Regions from separate parts of the Homo sapiens genome. Here all the other regions are linked to region 3. Evidence: promoter capture Hi-C in 16 types of primary human blood cells and fetal thymus (Javierre and others, 2016). All regions are on one chromosome and are shown on one strand. The core of a region is centred on a gene start or on the middle of the fragment in contact, and the rest is flanking DNA. Distances in the headings are between cores, read along the strand shown. Region 1 overlaps SBNO1 (strawberry notch homolog 1). Region 2 overlaps SBNO1 (strawberry notch homolog 1). Region 3 holds the start of RILPL1 (Rab interacting lysosomal protein like 1).

What was found. The method cuts DNA at HindIII sites, captures the fragments that hold promoters and counts their contacts. A CHiCAGO score of 5 or more calls a contact.
Region 1: a contact is called between a fragment that was not itself captured here and the fragment with the promoter of RILPL1 in region 3, in 1 of 17 cell types (endothelial precursors). The highest score is 5.3, in endothelial precursors.
Region 2: a fragment that was not itself captured here is called in contact with the fragment with the promoter of RILPL1 in region 3 in 1 of 17 cell types (endothelial precursors); the score reaches 5.1 in endothelial precursors.

What each region holds. Positions count from the first base shown.
Region 1 is chr12:123,333,847-123,337,746 of GRCh38, forward strand. SBNO1 (strawberry notch homolog 1) reads right to left here. Exons shown (of 32, transcript NM_001167856.3): 6 at 2,549-2,645; 7 at 207-367. Among named protein-coding and RNA genes, the nearest start is that of MIR8072, 29 kb to the right of the region's middle. RefSeq lists a silencer at 1,469-1,518. The HindIII fragment of the contact is 695 bases long and covers 1,715-2,409 here.
Region 2 is chr12:123,298,270-123,302,544 of GRCh38, forward strand. All of the region lies in intron 30 of SBNO1 (strawberry notch homolog 1), which reads right to left. Among named protein-coding and RNA genes, the nearest start is that of CDK2AP1, 29 kb to the left of the region's middle. The HindIII fragment of the contact is 3,596 bases long and covers 1-3,472 here.
Region 3 is chr12:123,531,463-123,535,623 of GRCh38, forward strand. It overlaps RILPL1 (Rab interacting lysosomal protein like 1), which reads right to left and starts at 2,257. Exons shown (of 7, transcript NM_178314.5): 1 at 1,712-2,257. The coding sequence starts at 2,020. RefSeq lists an enhancer at 1,258-2,075 and silencers at 2,291-2,980, 3,000-3,185. The HindIII fragment of the contact is 17,367 bases long and covers 1-4,161 here.

The DNA.
Region 1 (3,900 bases), core at 812-3,311, 200 kb before region 3:
AGTTATAACATTTGCCATTTCCACTGGAAATGCACTATCTGTATCTCTGCTACACTTCTAAAATTTAATTTTCCAACACATTAAACTTTCATAAATATTACATTTACAAGGTTTTCATACAAGGAAAAGTTACCTTTAGATTGAAACAACTCTGTTATATAGAATAGGATAAAATAATTATTGTATTATGAAATATTATTGCTTACCTGGGCTGCATATGTAATTGCCTCAAGCTGCAATGCTGATAACCAGCCATTATCAATGGTTTCCTCAGAAATGGATGTTTTGTACCAAACATCAGGAGGAGTAACACTGGATAAAGAGCTGGTTTCCACTACAGCATCTGGATGACGTAGGCCAATTTTTACTAAACAAAAATGTAAAAACATTTTATTTTAATTATTCTAAGTAATAACATTTCCAGTTTCATTATAAGATATTTCAATGTTTTTCTTATAACATAGAAAAATAATTAAAAAGTATTCACTCTGAGCTTCCATAAAAAGTAACTGATGACAAAGTACTATCTATATTTGACTAAAATGATTTATCAACTACATATGGTTAAAACAGAGATTTGGGCCAGGTGGGTGGCTCACGCCTGTAATCCCAGCACTTTGGGGGGCCAAGGTGGAGGGATCACTTGAGGTCAGGCGTTCAAGACCAGCCTGGCCAACACAGCAAATCCCTGTCTCTACTAAAAATACAAAAATTAGCTGGGCATGTTGGCACGCGCCTGTAATTCCAGCTACTCAGGAGGCTGAGGAACGAGAATTGCTTGAACCCAGGAGACGGAGGTTGCAGGGAGCCGAGACTGTGCCACTGCACTCCAGCCTGAGTGATGCAGTGAGACTCTGTCTCAAAAAATAAATAAATAAAATTAAATAATAAATAAAATAAAATAGAGATTTGCTGATAAAAAAAAGATCTAAAAAAACACCACTTGGTTCATAACAGCAGGTTCTCTAGTAGTAACAGAACATAATGCCAGATTAAGGAGTTCAGTTACTTCAAGCATTCATTCAGTAAAACAAAAGTTTGCAATACAATTTTATTTTGAGGCTAGGCATGAAGGTTCATGCTTGTAATCTCAGCACTTTGGGAGGCCAAAGCAGGAGTATCATTTGAGGCCAAGAGTTCAAGACCAGCCTTGGCAATATAGTGAGACCCTCATCTCTACAATTAAAATCCAAAAATTAGCTGGGCATGGTGGTGGGACCTGTGGTCCGAGCTATTCAGGAGTCTGAGACAGGAGGATTGCTTGAGCCTTGTAGGCTAAGGCTGCAGTGAGCTAAGATTGCGCCACTGCCTGGCTGGGCATGGTGGCTCACGCCTGTAATCTCAGCAGCTGGGAGGCCAAGGTGGGTGGATCTCCTGAGGTCAGGCATTCGAGACCAGCCTGGCCAACACGGTGAAACCCCATCTCTACTAAAAATACAAAAATCAGCCAGGCATGATGGTGCACACCTGTAATCCTAGCTACTCAAGAGGCTGAAGCACGAGAATTGCTAGAATCCAGGAGGGATCCTGGGAGGTGGAGGTTGCAGTGAGGCAAGAGCATGCCACTGCACTCCAGACTGAGTAAAGAGCCAGACCCCGTCTTAAAAAGAACATATTTTACTTTGAAAAGTATTCGAAAGACAACTTGGCTATAAAATTTAACAACCAAGTCCCCAAAATGTACAACATGAATACATTAAAATAATGATCTGGAAGCTTTTTCTGTAAAGGGTCAGAGAATGATTTTGCCGTTTTAGGCCATCCTGTCTCTTGTACAACTACTTAACATTGCTGCTGTAGTGTCAACGCAGCCATAGATAATAAGTAAACCAATAAACATGTCTATGTTCCAATAAAACCTTATTTACTATAAAAAAGCGAGTGGTCCAGATTTAGTTTGCTGTCCTCTGGTTTAAAGGGCCATAAACTCTTTCAATCCTTTTGCAAAATGATTATTGGAATAAGAAAAACAGAATTTCAGATAGGACTTCTAAAATTCATTGTAGGTGAGCAGAAAAGGATGGAATCTTGAGTCTATCAGTAGTTGATAAAAAGAGAATTGTAGTTCAATTCAAATGGTATTATTAGTGGTTTTTTATAGAAACCAAGACTACATGAAAGACAAATTCTAGACATAGATTTGTTTCCTGTAATGAAAAAGTGAAAATTTTATGCAAATATTAAAAACCTAATTTTCGACTTCATACAGTGGCTGCTAAAAAAAGAACCATGTTATACAAAAGGGAGAAACAAAAACTATGGAATTCAAATAGCACAATTATTTTTATAATTTCAATGTTTTTACAATTTTAGACAAGTTGTATTAAATATCTTAGCTTTATATATCTTTACAATTACCTTTGATTTTTATAATCACTACTCCTATGAACAAAATTAAAATAAAATCCAAGCTTCTTTAGTTTTGGTTTTAAAAGACTTTGACCTAAAGCAAGATTCTAAATTTATATGGAAAAAAACAAAACAAAAAGAACCAAAGAAACCACAGGAAAACTTTGATGTAAATATCTGACAAATCCCGAAGACATACATTTTATTGGCATGTATTCTGCATAGGTTTCTGCATGACCCATTTCTTCTTCATCTTCTTCCTCTGGTTCATCATCTTCTTTTACAACAGGAACCTTCTGCAACACAGAAAGAGCACAATCAATCCCAAATCCAGGGACCAGACGCCCAGCCAACACACAGAAAAACTCTCTTGTAGGAACACCTACAAATTTCCATCATGGAAACATGACGCGCCACCTCAATACTCCCTAAAATCTGGGCCACACTTCGTGGCTTTCCTGCTTCTCCAATAATGAGCACAGACAATGAGGTCCTACTCTGTCTCTTACCCACAAATGGGTCACAAGACTCCACGTCCTTCCGGCCACCATCGTGTCAAGCTACTTTCCCCTTCAATACTGCCTATCACCCCTCCTTGATGCCCAGAACTCTCTCTGCACTCAGACTTCGCCTTCATTCTAGTTCCAGGAGAAAGAGCAAGCAGTGTGTCTGGCTCTTCCTAGTGCAAAACTGGAGTGAACCCTAGCAAAGGTGGATTGGCCCCAAAGGACCCTGCATCACCACAAGCAAGGCCTCTCAGTCTCACATTCCACCTTCTTCTCAGTTCACTTCTATTTGCCTGCTTTCCCGCATATCCTAAAACCAAAACCCCAGAAGACTGGAGTTTATTTTAGAGGCCCTTATGAAGAACAGAAAAATTTACTTCAGACTTCTGTGTCTCCACAGATGCAATCGTGATCATATATAAGATGGCCATATAATTTATTTTCCAAACCCTGGCACATTTGAGTTGGGGAGCTATTGAGGATTACACTGAGAAAACAGAAGTAAACCCAGACTGTCCTCGGCAAACCAAGTGAATGGTCACCACGGTTATGCTTCCCTTTTCTTCCTCTACAGGATCTTAAAGGAATAAAGGAAGATCCGGAATAAGCCACTTTTCACTACCAGTACAATCATTAGGCAACTGTTTATTAGCATGCACTTGTTCAGGGAAGAATATAAAGAAACTGTTGTGAAACTCAGTATGCCAAGGGAAGAGGACAACAAAAACCTACAGGTTAAGGCAAATTAAGGCAAGATCGAGACAGCATTAAAAGTGAAGGACAGGCTCTTTTTTCATTTACCTCAGAATCTAGAGCAGAATATGGTTGCAAATAGATAACAAACGTGAAAAGGAAAAGAAGTGGGACATAACCATCCAATCAACATTAACCTATGGAGTCTTTAGATAAAATCTAAAAACTTGGAATGTTCTCAGAAATTATGCTAAAATAAAACTCAATTTCGGAAATTCGAGACAAAACAGGACTGGCCAAATGAATAGATTTGAATCCCAATTCTGCTGTTATTTAATTGTGTAGTCTGTTT
Region 2 (4,275 bases), core at 425-2,924, 230 kb before region 3:
CTTTTTTTTTTGTTGAGATGGAGTTTTGCTCTTGTTGCCCAGACTGGAGCGCAGTGGTGCGATCTCGGCTCATTGCAACCTCTGCCTCCCAGGGTCAAGTGATTCTCCTGCCTCAGCCTCCCGAGTAACTGGGACTTTTTTTTGTTGTTGTTGTTGTTTTGTATTTTTAGTAGAGACGGTGTTTTGCCATGTTGGGCAGGCTGGTCTTAAACTCCTGACCTCAGGTGATCCACCCTTGGCTTCCCAAAGGGCCGGGATTACAGGCGTGAGCCACCGCTCTTGGCCTCAAATTTCAAATAAACAATGTTTCAGCAGTATTTGCCTTTACTATTTCTTAGATTATAATTCTGTTGGCCCATTGGGTTAGCATTTCCAATTTAAGGTATCAGGCTGATTTTTAAAACCACGATTTTTTCAGGGGCCTGCCTCCCAATAAAAAGGGTTGAATTTATTGTGTTTGCTATCTGTTGAAGCATTTTAGTCATTTTAATATCCATTATTTTACTGCAATATTGCTACTTTATAAAATGATCTTGCTAGCCGGGCAGGGTGGCTCATGCCTGTAATCACAGCTCTTTGGGAGGCTGAGGAGGGAGTATTGTTCGAGTTCAGGAGTTTGAGACCAGCCTGTGCAACATGGCGAGGCTCTATCTCTACAAAAAGTTTAAAATAATTAGGTATGGTGGCTCATGCCTGTAACCCCAGCACTTTGGGAGGCTGAGGCATGCAGACAGCTTGAGACCAGGAGTTTGAGATCAGCCTGGCCAACGTGGAGAAACCTCATTTCTACTGAAAATACAAAAATTAGCCAGGTATGGGCTGGGTGCGGTGGCTCACGCCTGTAATCCCAGCACTTTGGGAGGACAAGGCCGGCTGATCACAAAGTCAGGAGACTGAGACCATCCTGGCTAACACGGTGAAACCCTGTCTCTATTAAAAATACAAAAAATTAGCCAGGAGTGGTGGCAGGCACCTGTAGTCCCAGCTACTCGGGAAGCTGAGGCAGGAGAATGGCGTGAACCCAGGAGGCGGAGCTTGCAGTGAGCCGAGATCGTGCCACTGCACTCCAGCCTGGGCAACAGAGTGAGACTCTGTCTCAAAAAAAACGAAACAAAACAAAACAAAAAACTGGCTGGGCACGATGGCTCACGCCTGTAATCTCAGCACTTTGGGAGGCCGAAGCAGGCAGATCATGAGGTCAGGAGATCCAGAGCATCCTGGCTAACATGGTGAAACCCCGTCTCTACTAAAAATACAAAAAATTTGCAGGGTGTGGTGGCGGGCACCTGTAGTCCCAGCTACTCGGGAGGCTGAGGCAGAAGAATGGCGTAAACCTCAGAGGCGGAGCTTGCAGTGAGCCAAGATCAGGCCACTACACTCTGGCATGGGCGACACAGCAAGACTCTGTCTTCAAAAAAAAAAAAAAAAAACAAAAAAGCCAAGTGTGTTGGCGCATGCCTGTAATCCCAGCTACTCAGGTGGTTGAGGCACGAGAATCGCTTGAACCTGGGAGGCAGAAGGTGCAGTGAGCCAAGATGGTGCCATTGCACTCAAGCCCTCTGTTTAAAAAAGAAAAAAGATCCTGAGAGATCCTGCCATGAAAAAACAAGCAATACCTGTGAAAAGAAAAGAAGGAGGGGGGAAGATCCTGCCAGTTATTTCTATATTATGAAACTACTGATACACTGGTTCTAAATCACATTAGTGGGAAGGACTCAGCAATCTAGAGAGATGGAAAGGGGTGGGAGGGGAGCGAGAGGCTACATGTAAATTTAAGAAGAAATGAGAAAAAGGAGAAATACCATCAATGTTTTCTGGTTAAAATTATCTTCAGAATATTCATCAATAAAGATGCCCTTCTGGTTAGTACTAACTCAAGACGAATCTAATACAGTGTTAAATGTAGGTATATAGGACACTTTTCTTGCTATAACTCAAAGCAAATGTTTGTTGTTTTTTAAGTTAATTTTTTGTAGAGATGGAGTCTTGCTGTGTTGAGGAGGTTGGTCTCAAACTCCCGGCCTCAAGCAATCCTCTCATCTTGATCTCCCAAAGTGCTAGGAGCCACTGCACTGTCCCCAGAGGAAATGTTTTAGAAAATGTTTAGGCCAGGCGCAGTGGCTCAAGCCTGTAATCCCAGCACTCTGGGAGGCAGAGGCAGGCGGATCACGAGGTCAGGAGATCAAGACCATCATGGCTAACACGGTGAAACCCCGTCTCTACTAAAAATACAAAAAATTAGCCGGGCGTGGTTGGCGGGTGCCTGTAGTCCCAGCTACTCAGGAGGCTGAGGCAGAAGAATGCCGTGAACCTGGGAGGTGGAGCTTGCAGTGAGCCGAGATCACACCACTGCACTCCAGCCTGGGTGACAGAGCGAGACTCCATCTCAAAAAAAAGAAATGTTTGTAGGGGCAAGGCGCGGTGGCTTATGCCTGTAATCCCAGCACTTTGGGAGGCCGTGGTGGGCAGATCACAAAGTCAGGAGTTCGAGACCAGCTTGGCCAACATGGTAAAACCCTGTCTCTACTAAAAATACAAAAATTAGCTGCGCATGGTGGCAGGCACTGTAGTCCTAGCTACTCGGGAGGCTGAGGCAGGAGAACTGCTTGAACCTGGGAGATGGAGGTTGCAGTGAGCTGAGATCGTGCCACTGCACTCCAGCCTGGGTGACAGAGCAAGGACACCATCTCAAAAAAAAAACAAAAAAAAACAAAAAAAAAACCCAAGTTAGTAGGTTAACTTTTAAAACTTTTTTTTTTAGACCACGTCTTGCTGTCATCCAGACAGGGGTGCAGTGCCACGATCTCAGCTCACCGCAACTTTTGCCTCACAGGCTCAAGCGATTCTCATGCCTCAGCCTCCCAAGTAGCTGGGATTACAGGCGTCTGCCACCATGCCCTGCTAATTTTTTTATTTTTAGTAGAGACGTGGTTTCACCATGTTGGCCAGGCTGGTCTTGAATTCCTGGACTCATGTGATCCATCTCGACCTCTCAAAGTGCTGGTACTACCAGCAAGCCAATGGTGCCTAGCCAGCCTACCTTTTAAAACATTTTATCTTACAGATTTTTTCTAATTTTCAGTGGCACTAATTTACTCTCATAATGAAAACCAAAAGCACTACTCACATCAAAGCCAACTTATCTACCTGCAGAACAGCCCAAACAATCAAAACAAACAAAAAGCCCCTCAAGCTAAAATTCATTTACATCTCATATTCCTTTTCATGAAGTGGGCCAGATACTGTAAGAGCATTAACTACTTAATGAGGGAGAGAACAATGAGAAGAAAACTATGATTTGCAGAGTATAAGAGTATACGAGGTCACAAAGTGAACACTGTAAGCCAAGGGGTGAGGGGGCACAGCAGGAAGAGCTCCAAGACTCAACAACAAAAGTTTGCATGTGCTGTGCTATTAACTTTGGGAATCTCCCTGGTTTCTTAGACATTCCCTAGATCTGGGACACCAGTAAAGCTTTTTTAAAAAAGAGAGGAAGAAAGAAAAGAGCCCAGCTACTCAGGAGGCTGAGATGGGAGGAGTTTGAGGCTGCAGTGAGCTATGATTGCTGCACTGTACTCCAGCCTAGGTGATATAGGGAGACTGTCTCTTTAAAATAACCAACCAAACAAAAAAACATGAAGGGAGAGTGACAGAAGGAGGGCGAAAAAGTGGTTTGTTTTTTTTTTTAAGAGACAGTTTTTGCTCTTGTTGCCCAGGCTGGAGTGCAGTGGTGCAATCTCGGCTCACCACAACCTCCGCCTCCCGGGTTCAAACAATTCTGCCTCGGCCTCCTGAATAGCTGAGATTACAGGCATGCGCCACCACACCCAGCTAATTTTTTTTTTAGTAGAGAGGGTTTCTCCATGTTGGTCAGGCTGGTCTCGAACTCCCGACCTTAGATTATCCACCTGCCTTGGCCTCCCAAAGTGCTGGGATTACAGGCGTAAGCCACCACACCTGGCCTTATTGTTTTTTTTTTTGTTTTTTTTTTTTAATGGAGTCTCGCTCTGTCCCCCAGGCTGGAGTGCAATGGCGCAATTTTGACTCACTGCAACTTCCACCTTCCGGGTTCAAGCGATTCTCCTGCCTCAGCCTCCCAAGTAGCTGGGATTACAGGTGCCTGCCATCACACCGGCTAATTGTTTTGTATTTTTAGTAGAGATGGGGTTTCACCATGTTGGCCAGGATGGTCTTGAACTCCTGACCTCAGGTGATCCGCCCACCTCAGCCTCCCAAAGTGCTGGGATTACAGGCGTGAGCCACCACACCCAGCCG
Region 3 (4,161 bases), core at 1,007-3,506:
GTTAATAAGAGGCGCCACACGAGAGAATTTCCAAGGTCCCTTGCCTCCTTGACCCTCTATGAGAGATGGAGGCCTCTAGGGTAGGAGTAGAGGTGCTTGGGGTGGGGACGGTTTCCTAATATGAGCCTGTGAGCACCTCAATGAATGTCTCTCCAGGCCTAAAAAGAATTTTAAGACTTGCAAAGCCCTTGCTATGGGCAGGCTCTGTCCTGAACACTTTATATGTATTTATATTAACTCTTTAAACCTCATCACATTCTAATGGGGGTACTATTACTATCCCATTTTAGAACTGAGGAAACTGAAGCACAGAGATGCTGGGTGATTTGCCCAAGATCACACAGCCTGCAAGTGGTAGGGTTTGAAACCAGGCTGTCTAGCTCCAAAGTCCTAGCTTCTAGGAGTCTTGAAATTAATTACAGGTCAAAGCATTTTCAGGCTCCCAGAGTGACCTCGGAAATGCTGCTCAACTCTTGGGAGCCTGAGTTTCCTTCCTGCCCCTAGGGCATAGGGACCCATGAGGACGAGCACAGTCAAACATGGCAATGGTGCTGTTACCTACCTGTGGGTCTGCCCTCAGGTAAAGGGTTCAGACCCAGCTTTGGCTATTTTACTCCAAAACACAGAGATCCATCAAAGTACACAATAAGGGATGGCCTGCCCCTGAGGTTCAGAGAGGCCATCTGTATTTCCTGAGGCTGAACAGCAAGCTGGAGACTGCTCAGGCACCCTGATCCCTCAAGGAAAGGTGTTTCCTCCCATTCTCAGTCTGAAGGGGCTGCCAAGAGCATCCCTGGCTGAGGTTAGGGCAGGAAACCACATGTCTTTCACTTCCTTTTCTCCAGAAACCTCGTCTGAACTCCAGGCCCAGTGGGGAGGCCCTGATTCAGAGAGACTCCTGATCACAGGGCAGAGGCTTAGCCTTAAAGCCACCCCAAATCATCCCTTTCCCCCAATTCAAACAGGGTGGGGAGGAGACACGGGGGCTGGGACTCTCTCACCACTAATTTGGGACAAATTGCTCCTCCCACTGTGACCCTCGGTTTCTTTATCTGTAAAATGAAGATAGTCTCTATAGAGTCCTGTGAGGATTAAGGATAAAATCAGAGGAGAGAACACGGGCTACCACAGGTTCATAAGCTAGGGGAGTCCCGGGAAGAAAGTTGCAAATATGAACCCGAAGACTAGGGGTCACGAAGCTCAGTGGCTGGAGGTCACATTCCCTTTGCTCTGGGGAGACTGGGGGGGGGGGGGATGAAGAAAGGGTCCTGGGCCTGATGTCACATCTTCTTGGTAACTCGGGAGGCCAAGAGGCTTATTTCATGTCTGGAAGAGAATAATATGTCTAAGCACTTAGCTTATATGGTCCCATTTAATTCTTCTAAGGTGGGTCCTATTATGATTACCATTTGACAGGTGAGGAAATAAAGCACAGAGAGGTTAAGTAACTTACCTAAAGTCACACAGCTATTAAACGGTAAAGGTGGGATTGGAACTCCAGAGAACAGCTCTTAATCTCTCGGGTGGTATCTGCCAGCCACCCCTGGTCGGGCAAAAGAAGGCCAGGGCCTCCCTCCCTCCCCACGTCGGGTCTCCTCTGGTCCGGTCCCTGAACACACACACGTGCGCACCCACAGCTGCCCAATGCGGAAGAGCCCTTGGGTCCCCGCGGTCCCACTGCCCGGACGGACAGACCGAGGCCGCCGCCCACCTTCTGGTGCTTGCGCTCCTTCTCGATGCGGTCCATCCTCTCCAGGCGCAGGCGGTCCAGCTCCAGGCGCAGCTCGTCCAGCTCGGGCGCGACGTGGTGGCGGCTGACCAGCACCTCCAGGATCTCCAGGACGCGCACGACCTTGGGCATGAGGCGCGCGATGGCCTCGCAGCCGTGCTGGTCAATGACCCGCTCGAACTCGTGGCCCACAAGCGACGCGATGTCGTACACGTCCATGACGGTCAGCTCGGCCACGTTCTTCTCCAGCGCCGACTCGGCCGCCAGCGCCGACCCCCGCTCCTCCTCCATGGCCACCCTCCTGGCCTGTCCCCCGCCCCGCAAACTCGTGCAACTCCCAAACTTGCCGCTGTCGAGGGCCGGGCCGGCCGGGCCCAGCCTGGGCCGCGGGCGGGCGCGCTCAGCGGGCGCTGGGGCGAGGGCGCAGCGGGCAGCGGGCGGCGGGCGCGGGCGCGGGCACGGGCGGCGGCGCGGGGTGTGCGGGCCCGGGGTCTGGGCGCCCGGCTCGGCCCGGAGCTGCTCCCGAGTGGGCGGCGGCGGCGGCGGCGGCGGCGGCGGCAGCGGGGAGGGCGCGCGCGTGCGCAGGCCCGCGGCGCCTCCCAAGTTGGGATCCGAGTTGCGCTCAATGGAGCCGGGCCGGGCGCCTCGGGGCGGTGCGGGCCTGAGGGGCGGCAGAGCGCGGGGCCGGAGAGGAAGGGCGGCCCGCGGCTCCTCCGGGAAACTTTGGCGGCGGCGGCTGCGAGGCCGGGTGATCGCTTCCCCACAGGGAGGCCGCGCGCCCCGCCCCAATCCCGGCCTGGCCAGGGGCGCGCCCGCTTTCCGCCGCCCGGGGGCGCCCCGGGGTACCCCCCCAAGCGCCGACTCCGCGGCCTGCACTCCGGGCCCCCCTCTCCAGCCGCCGGACCCGCGGCGCCCCTCACCCGTGCCCCGGCCGCCCCTCCCCCGCCCGGCGCTGACTCCTCCCACCACCCGGCCGCCGGGAGGGGTCCAGGCCGCCCCGGGAGAGGGGGCCGGGGGCGCTGGTCTCGCGGGACGATTCGCTGCTCCGGGTAGCGGCCCCGGCCTTGGAGAGGGATGGAGGGGTCACGAGGAGGTCCCCGGGCTGGGGCTCATCCCAGGAAGAGAACGGGGACCCCCCCCGGCCCGCAGACACTCCGCGCAGACCCGGCCACCAGGCGGACTTGCAGAGGCGCCCGGAGAGGGGCCGACGTGTCGAGGAATGCTGGATCCCCGGAGCCCCAGGGCGCGCCTCCCCGAGCCACATCCATCACTGGCTCCTTGTGACATGAACGCCACTTCACAGTAGAGCGAAGCCCGCTTGGCATTCCAGCACCACGAGTTCTCTTGTCCCAAGGCCCCCTGTCCATTTGGGCTGGCCAAATCCACTTGTCCATCAGACCCCCTCCCACTCCCGGGAGAACGTTTCCTGAACCCAGAACCCCATCCACCCTCCCCGCCCCCCACGCAGGAGTTAAGGACCCCCTTGCAAACTCACAGTCCCCTGCTTGCCCCATCAGGATTGCTCTTAGCATCCTGAGTTTTCACCGTGTGGTTGCAGGTAGGTTTCCACCGTCAGATCTTGGCTCCTTGAGGGAAGAAATCTTAATGCCCTTGTAGCCATAAAGCGCACCCCAACGTGGCACGTATTGATTAAAAATCTAAAAGTTGGCCGGGCGCGGTGGCTCACGCCTGTAATCCCAGCACTTTGGGAGACTGAGGTGGACGAGGTCAGGAGTTCAAGACCAGCCTAGCCAAGGTGGTGAAACCCCGTCTCTACTAAAAATACAAAAATTAGCCGGGCATGGTGGCGCATGCCTGTAATCCCAGCTACTCAGGAGGCTGAGGCAGAGAGTTGCTTAAACCCGGGAGGCGGAGGTTGCAGCAAGCCGAAATCGCGCCACTGCACTGCAGGCTGGGTGACAGAGCAAGACTCCATCTCAAAATAATAATATAATACAATAAATAAATAAATAAATAGTAAAAAAAAAAAAATTAAGGCCAGGCGGGGTGGCTCACGCCTGTAATCCCAGCACTTTGGGAGGCCGAGGTGGGAAAATTTCTAGAGCTCAGGAGTTCGAGACCAGCCTGGCCAACATGGTGAAACCACGCCTCTACTAAAAATACAAAAATTAGCCAGACATGGTGGCATGTGCCTGTAATCCCAGCTACTCAAGAGGCTGAGGCGCGAGAATCATTTGAGCCTGGGAGGCAGAGGTTGCAGTGAGCCAAGATCGTGCCACTGCACTCCAGCTTGGGCAACAAGAGCGAAACTCCGTCTCAAAAAAAAAAAAGAAAAAAAAAAAAGTAAAATAAAAAAATTAGCCAGACGTGGTGGTGAGAGCCTGTAGTCCCAGGTATTTGGGAGGCTGAGGTGGGAAGATCCCTTGAGCCTGGGAGGCAGAGGTTGCAGTGAGTTGAGATCACACCACTAT